Linked DNA regions of Homo sapiens: all the other regions are linked to region 2. The links are contacts of gene promoters, found by promoter capture Hi-C in blood cells and fetal thymus (Javierre and others, 2016). All regions are on one chromosome and are shown on one strand. Each heading gives the region's core, a stretch centred on a gene start or on the middle of the fragment in contact. The rest is flanking DNA. Distances are from core to core; before and after follow the strand shown. Region 1 overlaps ALG10 (ALG10 alpha-1,2-glucosyltransferase). Region 2 holds the start of CAPRIN2 (caprin family member 2). Region 3 overlaps MRPS35-DT (MRPS35 divergent transcript).

Region 1 (2,940 bases), core at 385-2,884, 3.3 Mb after region 2:
TCTGCCTCCCACATCCAGACTCATTTGTGAACTGAGCTGCTATGCAGTTGTTAATTTCATAACTTTTTTCATCTTTCTGAACAAGACTTTTCAGTGGCCAAATAGTCAGGACATTCAAAGGTTTATGTGGTAATATCAGTGATATTTCGAACTGTGAAAATGGACTTAATAATTAGACCATTTCTACAAAGAACAACTGAATAGGTGGAAAACATGGAATTTCTTTTAGGTGCAGTGGTGGTCTTCAAATTACATTAGTTTTTTTTATATATATTTTAAACATATGTAAGAAATTAAGTGGCAAAGAACTGAGAAAGCTTAAGACCTGCTTCAAAAGCCTGAAAAATGGAAAAATAAAATTGTTTTCAGATATCTCATATCACTCTCATAATGTTGGCCCCTTAAAAAGCTTGGGAATGTTTTGTATGTACAAGTTTATTAAAACTGGGTATGCTTCATATTACTGGAATGAATTTATTCTCTTCAGAGAGAAATATTAGGTTAGTGCAAAAGTAATTGTGGTTTTTGCCATTGAAAGTAATGGCAAAACCACAATTACTTTTTTACCAACCTAATAACAATGTATTAGCAAATATTTACAAATGGTCAGGTGATATTCTTGATTGAAAAGTTGCTTAACATTTCAGTAATATAATTTTAATTCTAAGTCAAAATACAAATGCATAGATAGTAAATGATAAAGTAGAGACTCATATATGCCTGTCTAGACATCAAATTGTTGGTTATTGTTTACAATCTAGAAATGATGAAGCTCTTTCACTAATTCCTAATATGAAATGTATGATGGCCAAAGACAAATTGTATTGATTATAATCCTTTAAAAGGGGGATTTCCTTTCTGAAATACATATTGTATTAGCTTCCCAGGGCTTCCATAACAAATGACGACAAACTTGGGTGCTTACAACAATTTTCCTCACAGTCTGGAGGCCAGAAGTCTAAAATCAAAGTGTCAGCAGAGTTGGTTCCTTCTGGAGGCTCTAAGGAAGAATCCATAAACAGACATTCTATGTCTGTTTCCTAATATCTTGTGGCTGTGTGCAATTCTTGGAGTTCTTTGGCTTCTGGACAAATCTTGTCCAAGTATTGCAGACAGCAATCTTCACTCCAGTCTCTGCCTCTGTGTTCACACGGCCTTTCCCTCTGTCTTCTCTTCATTACCTTTTAAGGACAGTGTCTTTGAATGTAGGGCCCACCCTGATCTAGGGTGATTGTGTCTGGAGACCCTTAATTATGTTTACAAAGACCCATGTTCCAAGTAAGTTTGTATTCACATGATCTGAGTAGACATTGTCTCTTCGTGGGATACTTTTCAGTCCATGACAGTTACTAAAGGACATTTTAGGATAGTCTTCATATGATTGTTAGGAGACTACCTTTTTAGATTTTTTTTATTATATATCAAATTATAGTTGTATATACTTATGAGAAACAAAGTGGCATTATGATTTTTGAATATAATGTGGGATTAAATAAAGCTAATCTATCCATCACCTCAAATATTTGACATATTTTGTGATGAAAACATTTGAAATTTACTCTCAGCAGTATTGAAATGTACAGTGCTTAATTATTAGCTGTATTCACCATGTTGTGTAATAGATCTAAAAAAAGTCAAACATGCTCCTTCTATCTAATTGAGGCTTTGTATCTTTTGATTATCATCTCCCCATTCCCACATCCCCGGCCTCTAGCAACCATCATTCTTCTCTCTACTTCTGTGAGTTTAATTGTTTTAGATTACACAAATAAGTGAGATCATGTGGTATTTGTCTTTCTGTGCTTGGCTTATTTCACTTACCATAATGTCCTCCAGGTTCATCCATATTGTTGCAAATGACACAATTTCTACCTTTTTAAAGGCCAAATAGTATTTTATTGTGTATATATGCCACATTTTCTTTATCCATGCATCCATTGATGGACATTTAGGTTGATTGAATAACTTGATAATTGTGACTTGTCTGCAGTGAACGTGGAGTGCAGACTTCTCTTTGACATACGGATTTCAAGTCTTCTGGATAAATGCCCAGAAGTGGGATTGTTGGATCAGGAGATAATATCTTAGCCGATACCTTTTAAATAACTCTCAGTATCTTTACTGAGAGGTTAAAAAGTAAGTGACTTCTGAGGTAATATAAAGCTAAAGGTGACTAGTGTTTGATTCCATTATCTATTTAAAAAAATGTCAGAATTGAAAGTTAAGAAATCATTTGGTCTGACCTTATTTTGTAGATTAGGGAACAACTGCTGGGGTAGGATTATTTTGTGTTACTTTTTGAATTTTGTGTTTATTATTTTGAGTGTATTTTTTGGGTTGTCATTCCATTATAGGAAAGTATTATTTGGGCATGTTAAATTTGACATGTAAACTTAGAATTATGAATAGAACACTTCTTTTAACATAATTTTATGTTTCCAAACTTTAAAAGTAGCTATAAGTGAACAAATTACTTTCCCCTCAATGTCAAATTTTGTTTCTCTGAGTTTTAAGTAATGATTCTACATTTACAAATATAAAATTGTGTGTAGGTGAAAATCACAAGTATAATTTGAATGATAAATACAGACCGTTTTTTGGTTGTACTCTAGTACTCAGAAAATAGAGTTGCATTAGTTATAACAGTGATTGTAGAAAAACGTGTTTTACCCAGACTTTTTAAAAATTAGACGAGAGAGGACACTCAGAGAAATTATACTTTTGTCATTAATTTACTATAATAGAGAACTAAATCCGAGAAGTCAAAATTGAAAAAAGAATGTATAATTTAGGGAAAATAACTTTTTGTCTGATAATATTAATGCAAGGATTTTGTATTTAGGAATACTTCTGAGAGGAGAAGCTTCCACTCTGATCTAGTCTGGCAAAATTGAGGAAAATATTCTACCCTGTAATTAAAGAAGACTGCTCTTTGGAGGG
Region 2 (3,211 bases), core at 638-3,137:
TACTACATAAGGAATTAATCTCACCTAAAATAGCTAGCTCTTAAAGTATTTCAACAGCAGCATGCATAATGTAACTATGAAGAATATTTTTATTCCGTTGTTTTGACAAATGAAACAGAAAATGTTTAATATTTCCAACACGTAACCTGCTTGTTTAAAGCAGCTAAACCTAAGGTTAGTTAAATTTTTAGTAGAGAACACCTATGAGCTCTGAAAGAAAAATGTCAGCTCCTTAATCTTTAAGATCATGCATCTACAGGACTGGAAGAAAAAAAGTTACCTTCTTTTTCTCGATGTTTCTAATTTTGTGTTTAAGGCATATGAGTCCATTTTCAATATAGGTCTCATACGCTTGGGAAGGAGATGCAGCAGAACTCAGAGTAGACTGCAGGGGGCTCAAGGCCCGCTGGCTTTCCCCATGCTGACTGTGGTTCACTTGGGGCTTGGCTGACTTCATATTCCCCTCTCTTTCCTCCTCTGAATGGCCTGAAGGTGACTGGTAACCAAAAGGGGATGAAAAGAGTTGCACCATTGAAACAGATGAGGCTGAAGGAGGTGGGGGAAAGTTAAGTATAAAATTAGGACTAGAGGGACACAGCCAGGCAATAACTTCCCTGGAAAGTCTAGACCACTCCCTTAAACTCTTTTCCACAGAAGTGAGCTCGAAACCCAATGATGCTTGAGATACTTGTACTTCCATCCTACTTTTAAAGTAATTAGTGCCGCTAGCCAATAAGGATAGCCTTTACATAGGCAAAATCTCCCAATACGGAGGATGTTTCCAGAAATTCGATTTTCCACATAGGGAGGAAGAACTGCAACGGCTTCAGAGCTCCTTTCTTCTCATGAGGGCAGATCACATTCTAAATAATTCCCATGGCCACGTGATGACACCAAAAGAATAAGCTTTCCACACCGGGACCTAAGGCTGAGCCACTCAAACCTCTTTACATGATCCCTCACCACCAGCCCTAACCTCAATCCTGAACGTTTGGAAGAAAATCCAAACTCACAACATTCTTTTATAGCTCTAAGTGAACCAGCAGCTTCTTGAACAAGAATGCTAACTTCCCCGATTGCTCTGGGGCCTACAAGGCAATCCATCACTACTGGACATTTGCAGACAGGTACTCTCTCAACCTGCAGGAACCCCGCGTTTATTCTCAGTTGTTTGGTTTAGACTAGCCCAAAACCGCTTACACCCAACCAGTTTAAGAGCTCATTCTAGCGAGCCCTTCCCGTGCCCTAATCAGTGGCCCTTGCGCACTTACGTATCCGTCTCTCGACCTCCAAGCACCCGAGGTATCCCTTTCTCCCCCCTTAGGAGCATCCCCAAACCAAGGACAGAACAGGCCCCATGCACGCCAGCGCGCACCCCCTCAAGTCTCCGGGGGAGCCTGAGCGAAGAGCACCTCTCCCGAGCGGCCACGGAGAGCCCTGCAGGCACCGACCCCCACCCTTCCCACAGCCGCCCCGGGTACGCAGAAGCCGCTTCTGCAAGGCCCCGGGGGAGGCTGACCTGCGGAAAACGCACCGACCGCGGCCCTCGGGAGCCCCGCCCCGCCCCGGGGATGCCAAGCCGCCCCTCCACCTCGCAGCGGCGCCGGCCGCCCAGACCTGCCCACCCTCGCCGGGTCAGCCGCCTCCCTCCGCCGCGCCGACCGAGGCCGCCGCAGCCCGACTTCACCTCCCCAGGCAGCCGAGGCCGCCGCTGCCGCAGCCCGGGCCCGCCTTCCAAAGCCTGGGGGAGGCAGGAGCGCTGCGGAGGTGGACCGGCGCCACCCCGCACTCGCGTCTCCTCCTCCTGTCTCCTCCCTCTCCCCTCCCGGTCCTCGCCCGCGGCCTCTGCGGCGCCAGAGACCCAGCCGACTCAGCCGCTCGCGCCCAGGCCCGCCCACCGCGCCGCGCGTGGCTTTTGTAGGCCGCGCCCCGCCCCGGCCCGCTCCGCCCTCGGCCGCCCCGCCACCGCCTCCTTCCGGTGCTCCTTCCCGGCTGCAGCTGGCCGCCAGCGCTTGTCGGGTGTTAGTTCCGGGCCCAGCTTGGGCTGGTGGTAGGTCGGGAGAGGGCGCGGTCTCCCAGCCTTTGCGCAGATTGCGGGGCACCAGGTGGGGCCGAGGCGACGCCGAACGCCGGCAGGCCGGAAACCGCGCAGCCCCGCTGGACCTCGCTGATTGCCGGCGGCACCGGTGGTTTCGCGACCTTGAACAGGTGACTCCAATAGCTCCAGGAGGGCAGCGAGCCCTTCGCGGAACTACCAGATAAGCCATGCTTGAGGCTGTCGTAGCCTAGTGGGTAGTCGTGAAATGCAGATGCGCCTTTGCCCCTCAGATAGCATCTTTCATAGTAGGATGGGGAAAAAACACCGTTTCCTTACCGGGGAATCAGCCTGTAAGAGCAGAATGCCCCAAATCAGCATCGCCATAAAAACGGAGTAGGTGACTTCGCAACCTGCAATAATAGGATTGAGTTTATTCAAGCCGTATTATTTGTTCATGTGACACACATTAATTGACTGGCACGCAGAGAAAGCTGTAAAAAATCTTTGTAAGGTTACATAAAATTAAGAGAAAAGTCTGGAAATATGTAAAAGTTTATTGAGGAAAGGAAGGTGTTTCTGATACCAAATAAGAAACACACACACACACTCAGCAATACTTTGCCCCAACATGTGTTTACTTATTACACCAAGTGGAGTTTTTTAGGTCCTGATTGTCCCTGACGCTCTGATAAAAAATATTGAGACTAGCAAAAGAACAGAAAATTCAGAAGAAGAATCAAGGAAACAAAGGTCTAGTTTTAAAAGCCTTGGTCAACTTCACACAAATTAATTTTAACATTACTTAATACATTTTTTTGGCATCTATTATCCGTGTTCTTTTCGGTCCCTGGTGACATAATGTACCCTAATGTTGCATTTTAACTTTGAATCTCTGAATCCCATATGTGTTCTTCAGGGTCAGAGAAATACTAGATTTTCCCTTTTTCTCATTGTTTATAAACAGAGAAACGCAGAAGATGCTGAACATGAGGAGAGGAAGGCTATGCCTTCACCTTTGGTAACACAAAAAACAGTGGCCATAAGAAAAAATGTGAAGGACACACTGTTGGATCAATGAGTTGACACAAAGTTACAGCACAGCCTGAGTTGTAGTCCGAGCTAATGATGAACCTAAAAATGGTATTTCAGTCAGATTAATCATGAAATGTTTGC
Region 3 (3,340 bases), core at 145-2,644, 3.1 Mb before region 2:
GTTAGGAGGTGCTATTTTATATTGGGTGGTGAAGGAAGGCCTCAGCGAGGAGGGGGCAATTAGCTAGAAATCTGAAGGAAGACACTGAGCATCAGTGCAGACATTTGGGAAAGGGTGTTCTAGGCACAAAGAACTGCAAATGCAAAGGACCTGGAATGGGAGTAGATGTGAATGTGGATAGCAAAGGAGGCTGACGTGGACGGAGCAGAGTGAGCTGGAGGCGAGAGGTGGGAGATGAGTTTGCAGAAGTAGCCAGCAAACTCATCAAGCTGGTCAAACTTGTAAGCTGAAGTAAGGACTCAACTATTCTGAGTGATGGGGGAGAGAAATGTCTTGACTGACCTGTACGTTAAAAGCCTCACTTGAAGCCAGGCATGGTGGCTCACACCTGTAATCCCAGCACTTTGGGAGGCCAAGGTGGGTGAATCACTTGAGGCCAGGAATTCAAGACCAGCCTGGCCAACATGGTGAAACCCCGTCTCTACTAAAAACATAAAAATTAGCCTGGCATGATGGCACATGCTTGTAATTTCAGCTACTCAGGAGACTGAGGCAGGAGAATCGCTTGAACCCAGGAGGCGGAGGTTGCAGTGAGCCGAGATCGTGCCTCTGCACTCCAGCCTGGGTGACAGAGCAAGACTCTGTCTCAAATAAACAAACAAACCCTCACTTGATTACTGGGGGGAGACTTGATGGTAGAAGAAAAAGAAGAGAAGCAGAACCCAGGTAAGCAGCTAGGAAGCTGTAGTCACCCAGATGAGAGAAAAAGGTGGCCTGGACCACACTCGTACAAGAGGAGGTATGAAGAGGTCAGATTTAGAATGTAGTTGAAAGTAAAGTGTACAGCATTTGCTGATGATTGGATGTGGGGTTTGAAACATGTAACAATTAGATGCTGTATTTCCAAATGTCTTGAATAATAAGAATATATGCAAGGACAGAAATAAATTTGTCTTTGACTTTCCTTTATCCAAAGAAATCAGAAGATGGAGAAAAGCATTTTAGAGAAACAGTGCCAGGGTATGTGATTGCCAGGTGGGCACTGCATGACTGGGTGCCTCACTGAGGAAAAAGTAACTCAACATGGGCAAAGGAGATCCCAAGAGGCAAAAATGTCATTATACGCATTCTTTATGCATACTTGTCAGAAGGAGCACAAGAAACAGCACCCAGATGCTTCTGTCCTCTTCTCAGATTGTTCCAAAAAGTGCCAGAGAGGTAAAGGACCGGGTCTGCTATAAAGGAAAATTTGAAGACTTGGCAAACTCAGGCAAAAGACCCATTATGAAAGAGAAATGAAAACCTATATCCCTCCAGAAAGAGAGGCAAAAAAAAAAAAAAAGCCCAAGAGGCCTCCTTTGGCTTTTTTCTTGTGTTCTGAGTATTGCCCCTGAGTCAAAGGAAAATATCCCGGCCTATACATTGGTGATTTTGCAAAGAAACTGGGAGAGAGGTGGAATGACACTGTTGCAGATGACAAGCAGCCTTATGAAAAGAAGGCTGCGAAGCTGAAGGACAAATATGAAAAGGATATTGTAGCAGACTGAGCTAAAGGAAAGCCTCATGCAGCAACAAAGGGAATTGCCAAGGCTGAAAAAAAAAGAAAAAAAGAAGAGGAGGATGAGGAGGAAGGAGAAGAAGAAGATGATGATAAACGAGTTGGTTGTAGCAGTCTTTCTCTTGTCTATAAAGAATTTAACAACCCCTGTATACAACTCACTCCTTTTAAAGAAAAAAAAATTGAAATGTAAGGCTGTGTAAGATTTGTTTTTAAGCATTACAGTGTCAGCTGGGCGCGGTGGCTCACACCTGTAATCCCAGGACTTTGGGAGGCCAAGGTGGGTGGATCATGAGGTCAAGAGATCGAGACCATCCTGGCTAACACGGTGAAACCCCGTCTCTACTAAAAATACAAAAAAATTAGCCAGGCATGGTGGCGGGTGCCTGTAGTCCCAGCTACTTGGGAGGCTGAGGCAGGAGAATGGCATGAACCCGGGAGGCAGAGCTTGCAGTGAGCCAAGATTGCGCCACCGCACTCCAGCCTGGGCGGCAGAGCGAGACTCCATCTCAAAACAACAACAACAACAAAACAAAACAAAAACAGAAACAAACAAAAAACATTACAGTGTCTTTTTGTACAATTAACAGATTACAAAATGTCTCTTAAGATAGCCCTGTCCTGGTGATATTTTTAATAGACACTAACCTTGCCTGATACAGAATGGGGGTTGTAATTGGCACGGAAATTTAAAGCAGGCTTTGTTGGGGCACAGCACAGATTAGTTATATAGGAGGATAGTTTTTTCATCTTCATTTGTCTCTGATGCAGCTTATACGATATAGTTGTTGTTCTGCTGAGTACCACTCTGTAATTGAAAAAAAAGAAGTTGCAGCTGTTTTGTTGACATTCTGAATACTTCTAAGCAAATACAATTTTTTAAATTAAAAAAGCATTTTAGCCCTTTGCCTTCAGTAAACTGGGCATGAATAAGCCCAGGTGGCATCTTTTAAAGTGTTAAGTAATAACGGTTCCCATGTTCAATGCTTCTGGGAGGTTATAGTCCTCAGTCAATTAATGTTTCCTCGGTGTATAGCGACCCCTGTCTGCAGGAATGCTGTGTGGAGTACACTCTCAAGAAGGAGGTGATGTAAAGAACATGCAACTTGGAATCAGATGCGGATTTGAGTTTCAATGCTCATAAGAGCAGAGTCAAGTGGCTTAACTTTTTGCTTCCTTATTTGTAAAATGGGAATGACTTCAACTACAATCATGCATTGCTTAATGGGGATATGTTCTGAGAAATGCATTGTTAGGCAATTTCATTGTTTTGTGAACATAAGAAAGTGTACTTACACAGACCTAGACAGTACAGCCAACTACACACCTAGGCTATGTGGCATAGCTCCTAGGCTACAAGCCTGTACAGCATGTTACTTTACCAATACTGTAGGCAACTGGAACACAATGGTAAATATTTGTGTATTTAAACATATCTAAACACAAAAAAAGGTACAGTAAAAATAAGGTATAAAAGGTAAAACATAGTACACTTATATGGGGCACTTACAACAAATGGGGCTTGCAGGACTGGAAGTTGCTCTGGGTGAATCAGTGAGTGGTGAGTGAATGTGAAGGCCTAGGACATTACTGTATGCTACTGTAGACTTCACAAACACTGTTCACTTAGGCTGTGATACATTTATAAAACAATAAAGTAATTGTGCTATGATGTCACAATAGCCACAATGTCACTAGGGAATAGGAGTGTTTCAGCTCCATTATAGTCTTATGGGACCACCATCATATATGCACAGTGGTTGACTGAAACGTCTTTATGTG

The links. The method cuts DNA at HindIII sites, captures the fragments that hold promoters and counts their contacts. A CHiCAGO score of 5 or more calls a contact.
Region 1: a contact is called between a fragment that was not itself captured here and the fragment with the promoter of CAPRIN2 in region 2, in 4 of 17 cell types (total B cells, non-activated CD4 T cells, activated CD4 T cells and 1 more). The highest score is 7.5, in total B cells.
Region 3: a contact is called between a fragment that was not itself captured here and the fragment with the promoter of CAPRIN2 in region 2, in 1 of 17 cell types (total B cells). The highest score is 5.2, in total B cells.

The regions. Positions count from the first base shown.
Region 1 is chr12:34,026,783-34,029,722 of GRCh38, forward strand. ALG10 (ALG10 alpha-1,2-glucosyltransferase) reads left to right here. Exons shown (of 3, transcript NM_032834.4): 3 at 1-1,520. The coding sequence ends at 133. Among named protein-coding and RNA genes, the nearest start is that of ALG10, 5.8 kb to the left of the region's middle. The HindIII fragment of the contact is 2,454 bases long and covers 408-2,861 here.
Region 2 is chr12:30,753,064-30,756,274 of GRCh38, forward strand. It overlaps CAPRIN2 (caprin family member 2), which reads right to left and starts at 1,888. Exons shown (of 19, transcript NM_001385503.1): 1 at 1,688-1,888; 2 at 281-496. The coding sequence starts at 457. LOC645485 (a long non-coding RNA gene) reads left to right here and starts at 2,011. Exons shown (of 2, transcript NR_135046.1): 1 at 2,011-2,208. RefSeq lists enhancers at 1,262-1,341, 1,345-1,514 and a silencer at 1,442-2,121. The HindIII fragment of the contact is 2,894 bases long and covers 905-3,211 here.
Region 3 is chr12:27,701,255-27,704,594 of GRCh38, forward strand. It overlaps MRPS35-DT (MRPS35 divergent transcript), which reads right to left. Exons shown (of 5, transcript XR_001749448.2): 3 at 2,207-2,366. It also overlaps the pseudogene HMGB1P49. Among named protein-coding and RNA genes, the nearest start is that of REP15, 6.5 kb to the left of the region's middle. The HindIII fragment of the contact is 3,947 bases long and covers 1-3,340 here.